3 separate regions of the Homo sapiens genome follow, and regions 1 and 2 are each linked to region 3. Evidence: promoter capture Hi-C in 16 types of primary human blood cells and fetal thymus (Javierre and others, 2016). All regions are on one chromosome and are shown on one strand. Each heading gives the region's core, a stretch centred on a gene start or on the middle of the fragment in contact. The rest is flanking DNA. Distances are from core to core; before and after follow the strand shown.

Region 1 (2,700 bases), core at 53-2,552, 490 kb after region 3:
GCTTTTGGGGCATCAGGCATTGTTCTAGGTTCTGGAAATATGACGGTGTCCTGTTAGTAGGTGAGTATAACAACAAATATGTAAAGAATTGCATAAATGAGATAATTTCCAATAGTAGGAAATGGCACAAAGTAAACACAACAAAGCAACAGGATAGAAAGTGAAAGGGGAAGGGTTATACTTTATATAGAGAAGGGATTCCTGAGGAAATGATATTTGAATTAAGATCTAAATGAAAAGAAGCAGCCAGCCACAAAAATAGCTGAAGAAAGTGGATTTCAGCTGGAGGAAACAGCCAACACCAAGGCATTAATGAGGGTACATCCTTCATGTGCTCAAGGATGGCAAGGAGACCCATGGCTGAGTGGGATGGGATAGGTGATACCAGATGATACTAGGCAGACTCACCCTATACATTTGCAATGCTAGACACACTCTTTACCCCTTTCTCTCCCTAACTCCCCATCCTTCTCCCCATGGGAAGGGCTGTGAACACCTGAGTCTGATTTCCAGGCTCCAGCAGAGCCTCCACGGCTGGGGCTGGGCATCTATAGGTTTTAAAGCTCCCTAGATAAATGTAATGAGCAGCCAGAAGTGACAACCAGTGCCCTAAACAAAAATTAAAAAATAAAAACTTAAGTTATAAACAACAGAGAGGCTGAATTTATGGCCCATAAATGACTAAGAAAATGGAATGTAATAAAGTAAATATAATATTGAGGAAAGTTTGGTTACAGAAATTGCTCCCAATCTCTAATTCTTTCCCTCAGACAAATAAAGAACATGTTTTCCTCACAGCCTCACAACTCTGATTTAAAATTTAAAAAAATCCTACTTTGTAATGTCAATTTATTTAAACTAACATTTTCAGCCTATGTACAAGGAGTTGTAATAAGTGCTATATAAATCAGAAGAGATATAAGATATATCCTACTCTCGAGAAAGTTACAAGCAGCATTACAAATATCTGGTTTCAGCCTTATGATCTTGTTGACATGACTTCAGCCTCCACCACCCTTTGCAACTGGTATTTTCTTCCCAGTGCCTTTTCAAATCGCAACCTTGTACAGAGTAGAAGCCATTAGTTTATATAAACCAAGAAGATTATATAAGGGTGCTTGGGAAACAGTAGTGATGATGATTAAAGATGATTCTCAGGAAACTTCAGGAAATGCTATACATATGTTCATAGCTAAAATCCACTAACAATTATGAAATAGGAATAACCTTTGATGTCTTCCAACTGGCCTGTGAAGGACTGGCTCCCCGCTGCAGGCACTACTCTGTCATGACCCCCTAACCACTTATCTGAAAATCTTGAAGTCATAACTGATCATAGCTTTAAGTGCTATATTTTCCAAAGGCATTACCTTTTAACAGGAGCATATTAAACACTGCAAATTTTCCAGATGCAAAGCAGTCAAGGGATGGGAGCAGTTAGATGCCTAAGAGGCTCTCAGTCTATTCTCTATATGAATCTTCCTCTTTTCCCCTTTATCAGTAAATTATGTGCTAGCTCCAGTGTAGGTCTCTGAAAAAGACTTAGGATGAGCACTGTATCATATTTACAGATGGAGGGGAAGTCACTTCCAATAGAAGCTAACCACTGTAGGATACACAATATCAGACCACCACCTTATTAGCTTATGTGTGTATGTTTATGTATTTTATTGAGTTCTTATTATATGCTAGCCATTATCTTGTTAGCTGCATGAGAAGTAAGTACAATTATAATCTCTGGTTTGCAGATTTGAGGAGTAGGTTTAGAGAGTCTCAGTGACTCACCTAAAGTCACACGGCTCTAAGATAGGGTAAGAAAGCAGATGTGTCTGAGTCCAAGTCTCCTTATTAACCACTAATCCCCCTCCTTCATACCCAGACTTTTTATTATGTGTCTGCTTGAACTATAACTACAAATGGAGGAACCAAAATTTAAAAGGCTAGTAGCTCTTTTGGTAAGCCAAAGTCACTGGTAGACCTTCCCAGGAAGGGTTGATTGCAACGCTCTGTTATGAAACCATAGACTCTATGTATCCTCCTCACTGGATCACAGGTTCACAGGTCATCAGCTTTATTTGGTCCAATCAAATGAGCCTAATACCGGAATTCCTTCCACAAAAGCAAATGAACAAACAAACAGGAATCTCATAGGCATATGCCGTAATCACACTAGGGACTAAGTAAGAGAGGCTGGCTTCTGCATGAACTAACACTACAATGGAAAATTAATTGGCAGTGTGTAGATTCTGCTTTGGAGAATGAGCAGCTAAGAGTATTGTCAAATTTCAAAATGCAGTAAACTCCCATTACTAATGCCCTGGAAATTTCCAAAGAGAAGATATAGCTTTTCTTCCCCTCCCCCCTCTTAAAAATATCCCTTGTTTTTAGAAATATGGATATGTTTGTTTCTTTTAATTATAGAATTGTTCTAAATACAGAAGAAAAGAAGGCATGTCTTTTTATCATCATTTCCAGGAGTTACTGTGTTTGAAGGTTTTTCAAGGATCAAGTGTGCTTTAAAACAAATCAGTGTGTAGCTACTCTTACCCTCTGACAATGCCTCCCTCTATCTGTTACTTGCAGCCAAACAGGAGCAAGCTTTAGAGTAGAACTGCCTTTTCTAGAGAGACACACATTTTCTAGAGAGACACACATGAAGAAAACAGAAAAGGAAGACCCAGTGTGCATTTATTTTATCCT
Region 2 (2,700 bases), core at 113-2,612, 270 kb after region 3:
GAGAGCTGGGGTCTTGGTGGGTGGAAGAAATAAAATTCATAGTTCAGGGTGGCAGAAATGTGCACATAATTGAAGTCCAAGAAGATGAGAGCAATTAGAATGAAAAAAGTATTTGAATGAATAATGATGAAACTTGTCAATTTTGACCAAAAGAAATCAACCCACACATCCAAGAAGTTCAATAAAATCCTAGCAGGATAAATACAAAGAAAACCACACCTAGTCCCACCACATTTCTGAAAACCAAAGTAAAAGAGAAAATCTCAAAGGCAGCCAGATAAATTACACACTGGTGAACAATAATAAATAAGAATTATCACGCCCTTGTCATAGAAAAATGATGCAAGCAAGAAGGCAAGTGATGAAAAAAAAATCAATAAATAAAACCCATCAACCTACATTTCTATAGTCAGTATAATATTATTTTTAAATGATGGCAAAAAAATGGTGTTTTTATATAAGTAAAAGCTTGGGCCACAAGCTCACTAAAACTCAAAGGATTAAGTGATACAAATAATGTTCTCTCACCACAACAGAATTAAACATAAAAATCAATAATAACACAATCTGGAAAAATCACCAAATATTTTGAATTAAGCAACACACTTATAAATAATTCACAGTTAGAGAACAAATGTCAAAGGTAAATAGAAAATTTTTTAACTGAATAATAACTAAAACACAGTCTATTCAAATTTATGGGATACAGTTAAAACAGTGGTTAAAAAATTTTTATATCTCTAAATGCATATGAAAGATAAATAAAAATATTTAAAATTAATGTGTTTCAACTTTAGTAACCTAGCAAATTAATATCAAACTAAATCAAAAGTATGTAAAAAAAGAGAGTATGTAATAGAAGTTAAAGCAAATCAAAGAAACCAAAAGTCATTATTTGAAATTATTAGCAGCATTTATAAACCTCTAGATATACTGAAAGAGAGAGACAGAGAGCAGATATAAATGATCAATAATAGCAATGAATTAAAAATCACTATTGATTCCATACACATTAAAAGGAACAGAAATTATTATAAAAATGTTATGCCAATAATGTTGACAGTTTAAAAGAAATTTTAAAATTCCTTGGTAGACACAATAGAAAAATGGACTCAGGAAGAATTTAATGGTTACAATTACAATATCTGTTAATAAAAATGAATTTGCAATAAAAAACATTCTCAGCTGGACGCGGTCGCTCACGCCTGTAATTCCAACACTTTAGGAGGCCGAGGCGGGCGGATTAGGAGGTCAAGAGATTGAGACCATCCTGACTAACACGGTGAAACCCCGACTCTACTAAAAATACAAAAAATTAGCCGGGCGTAACCTCTAGCTCTATATAACTTCTCTGTTGATTTCCATTAAATATTTAAGGAAGAAGCAAAGTTTTTGTTTTGTTTTGAGACAGAGTCTCACTCTGTCACCCAGGCTGGAGTGCAGTAGCGTGATCTCGGCTTACTGCAACCTCAGCCTCCCAGGTTCAAGTGATTCTCCTGCCTCAGCTTCACAAGTAGCTGGGACTACAGGCATCAACCACCACACCCGGCTAATTTTTGTATTTTTGTATTTTTAGTAGAGACAGGGTTTCACCATGTTGGCCAGGCTGGCCTTGAAATCCTGACCTCAGGTGATCCGCCCGCCTTGGCTTCCCAAAATGCTGGGTTTACAGGAGTGAGCTATCACGCCCAGCTGGAAGAAGCAAAATTGATGTACAAGCAGCTTACTCTCTCTACTACCAGAGGCAGAATAAGTAACATGTCATTAAGGGTGAATATATGGAGTAACACAATAGAACAAGCATGAACTTAATTCCTAATAGACCCTAATCCAAATACTCTCTATGCCACATCCAGTAGTATGCCTGGAGTAATCTCTTTAACTTTCTAAGCCCAATTTTTCTCACATATAAAGCAACATTAATATTATATCACCTGATTATGCTGAAAATTAAAAACTAAAGATAATATATTTAAAGTACAACATAGCTTCTGGTTTTTAATGAGTCTTCCAAATAAATATGATTTGAAGGTACATAATGATATTTCTTTTGGGGTTCTTTATCAAATGGATATTATAATAATGAATCAAAGAGAAAAAATATAATCACTTTAATCTTGAATCCAAATGATCTGGAATCACTGAAAGTTGAAAACTTGGTAATAGATACTTAAAAATCTCAGATAGCCTAAAGATAGTATGTTTTCAGTAAATTTTTTTCTCTTAATGTAATTTAAAGTTAACTATTAAGCTTTTAATTAAAAAATCTTGCTTGACTTTAGAAGCATTTTAGGAAAGCTTTCTGAAGTGATATTATTAATTTAATTATTTAGGAAAGCTTTCTTAAGTGATATTATTAATTAAAAGACTGTCTTGAACCATACTTTGGGGTGAGGCAGGCACAATTCACCCTCAGTCTCAACTATTCACTAGAATCACTCATGAGACTTGAACAACTGTTAACATTCACAGTTACAATATATTGTAACAAATGGATACAGATTAAAACATCAAAGGGAAAAAGTGTAAGAAGTCAAGTCCAGGGGAAACCAGGAGCAAGGTTCCAGGTGTCTTCCCCCAAGGCAGTTGCATGGATAGTCTTAATTCTTGAAATGTGTAAAAACATTTGCCAAAGTCTGTAAGCCAGGGGAACTCGCTCAAATCTTGATGTCCAGGGTTTTTAATTGGGAGTCAGTCAGG
Region 3 (2,700 bases), core at 195-2,694:
TTTTCTGAGATAGGGTCTCACTCTGTTGACCAGGCTGGAGTACAGCAGTGAGAACACAGCTCACTGAAGCCTTGACCTCTCCTAGGGTCAAGTGATCCTCCTGCCTCAGGCTCCTGAGTAGCTGGGACTACAGGCACGCACGACCACACTTGTCTAATTTTTTGTATGTATGTATGTATATATGTATGTATGTATTTTGTAGAGACAGGGTCTCACTAACAGCCCAGGCTGGTCTCGAACTCCTGTGCTCATGCGATCCTCCAGTCTAGGCCTTCCAAAGTGCTGGGATTACAGGCGTGAGCCACTGGCACTTGGCTTGGTACCATTTCTATGAACTTTCCAATAGTTAACATCATCTTTAAAACGCCCACTCCCAACCACCACACCAGGCAAAGTTCAAGTGTTCATAAATCAGAGCAGAGGGAAATGTACCCCCTCAAACAGAACAAATGAAAGCAAATGGCAGAGAAACACTGTATTGAGGAGTGGGGGGGGGGCGGGGGGGGGCGAGGGCACCAGGGATGGGACTAGGTGTTGGTTTAGCAAGAGAGGAAGGGGTGAGTGTAAGGTTTCAGAAAAGCTTTCCCAAATCTTCACGGAGTGTCTGTCCTCGGCTTCCGATGAGAGCAAAGTATTTGAGGAATGGAGTTTCCCTCACAAAGGCCAGTCTCAGAGCCAAGGCGGGTGGTGGAAAATGATCTGGAAAGGAACCTGGCTTTTGGTCTTGGTGGTGTCACTAACTAGGAGTGCAGCTTCGGGTTAAGTCACCCAATCCCTCTGAACTTGAGTTGAGGCTGAGAGGCGCCGGCCCGCTCCAAAGCAGCCTTCTCAACTAGTCCTGGTGTATGTATGATATACTTGCATTATTCAGAGTTCAAACTTCTGGAAAAGGCCCCCTGGCCTCCTCGCCTCCCTTCAGGAGAGCGAGCTCTGGCGTGCAGGACCTGCTCCAACTCCTACTGCCCATCCCATCCTCTGGGCCCCACCGAGTCCAGCCGACCGCGTCCATCGCATCTCGCCCTTGGATTGGGCCTCTCTCTTCTCCTAAAGGTACCCAGGCAGACGAGTTCAGGCAGAAAAGAAAAAGAAAAGAAGCAGAGAGGAGCCAGGCGGCCCGGCGGGGCTCTGGAGTGGGAAACTCGCGGCCGCGCTTACCCGCGATGTCCCACAGCTGCAGGCGCACCAGAGTCCTGCTGTCCCAGTTGAGGACCTTGAGGGCGAAGTCCACCCCGATGGTGGCCCGGTAGTGCTGGGAGAAGAGCTGGTGGACGTAGCGCTTGATGATGCTGGTCTTGCCCACGCCAAGCTCGCCGATCACCAGCACCTTGAAGAGGTGCTCGCGGGTCTCGGGCGCTGGGGCGGCGGCCGCCCCCAGGCCGGGGTCCCCGGCTCCTCCGCCCGCCATGAGCGCTGCGGCTGTCGGGCGCGCCTCGACTCCGAGTCTGGCCCCCTGCCCGGCCTCGCGCTCTGCCGCCGCGCCCCCGGCGGCCGCGGAAACTCCCCCGAGGCCGGCCAGCCCTCCGCCGCGCCCGCTGACGCCGCCTGACCGGTCACAGGACCCAGAACCCGCCAGTGCTCGCGGCCCGGGCGGGGCCAGACGAGGGCAGGGCCGGACGAGGGCAGGGCCTGGCGCCGGCTTGGGGAGGACCCTGCGCGAGGCGGCTCCCGCCCTGCGCCTCTGAAGCCCGGCCGGGCCCAACTGGACTTCCTCTCCCGGGCGGCGCCTCCGAAGCCCGGCCGGGCCCAGCTGGACTTCCTCTCCCGGGCGGCGCCTCCTGGCGGTCGCGGCGCGGAGGGAGGCCCAGACGCCCGCTGGTGGGCCTCCGGGGAGCCGGCCTGGAGCCTTTATGGGCCCCGGAGGTTCACTGGGGGCCTGAGGAGGCGCCGAGGTCGCTGAGCCCCCCCCGGGGCCGGGGTCGGCGTGGGGTCCGGGCCCAGCCTGGAAGCCTCTGGCCTGGAAATCCACCTCCTGCCCTACTCTCCCCGCAGGGAGAGCCACACTTGCGGGCCTTGGCTTGGGTCGCGAGCAGTCCCCTTTAGATGGGAAAGGAAGTGGCACCGTGACTTTGAACTTAACGAAGGACGGATAACACTGGGCTGGTAGTTCTGTTTTTAACTTTTTGAGTGAACCTCCGTAGGGTTTTCCATAATGGCTGTTCCAGTCCGCATTCCCACCACCAGTGTACAAGGTTCCCTTTGCTCCGCACATCACCGACACTTATTATCGCTTATCTTTTTTATAACAGTCATCCTAGCAGGTGTGAGGAGATACCTAGTGGCTTTTCCCTGTTCATTAGTGATTTTGAGCGCCTTTTCTTATACCTGTTGGCAATTTGTACTTCCTCTGGAAAAAAAAAAAAAGTCCATTCACATCCTTTGCCCGTTAGTTAACTGGGTGTTTTATTTATTTATTTTGGCTGAGTTCTGTGAACGTAATGTATTTTGGATATTAACCCCTTATCAGATATATGGCTCACAAATATTTTCTCCCAATCTATAGGCTGTTTTTTCATTTTGTTGATTATTTCCTATGCGGTGCAGAAGCATTTTAGTTGGATGAAGTCCCATTTATCTAGGTTTGCTTTGGTTGCCTGGGCTTTTGGTGTGATATTGCAAAAATCGTTGCTAAAGCCAGTGACCCAGCTATCCCTCTTCTGGGTGTATACTCAAAGGAAATGAAATCAGGATCTCAGAAATCGC

The links. The method cuts DNA at HindIII sites, captures the fragments that hold promoters and counts their contacts. A CHiCAGO score of 5 or more calls a contact.
Region 1: a contact is called between a fragment that was not itself captured here and the fragment with the promoter of RAB32 in region 3, in 1 of 17 cell types (endothelial precursors). The highest score is 11.5, in endothelial precursors.
Region 2: a fragment that was not itself captured here is called in contact with the fragment with the promoter of RAB32 in region 3 in 1 of 17 cell types (M2 macrophages); the score reaches 5.8 in M2 macrophages.

Annotation. Positions count from the first base shown.
Region 1 is chr6:146,050,240-146,052,939 of GRCh38, reverse strand. All of the region lies in intron 1 of GRM1 (glutamate metabotropic receptor 1), which reads right to left. Among named protein-coding and RNA genes, the nearest start is that of GRM1, 23 kb to the right of the region's middle. The HindIII fragment of the contact is 2,597 bases long and covers 4-2,600 here.
Region 2 is chr6:146,277,488-146,280,187 of GRCh38, reverse strand. The region is part of intron 2 of GRM1 (glutamate metabotropic receptor 1); the gene reads right to left. Among named protein-coding and RNA genes, the nearest start is that of GRM1, 250 kb to the right of the region's middle. The HindIII fragment of the contact is 1,783 bases long and covers 471-2,253 here.
Region 3 is chr6:146,542,577-146,545,276 of GRCh38, reverse strand. It overlaps RAB32 (RAB32, member RAS oncogene family), which reads right to left and starts at 1,444. Exons shown (of 3, transcript NM_006834.5): 1 at 1,156-1,444. The coding sequence starts at 1,405. RefSeq lists a silencer at 1,491-1,870. The HindIII fragment of the contact is 5,944 bases long and covers 583-2,700 here.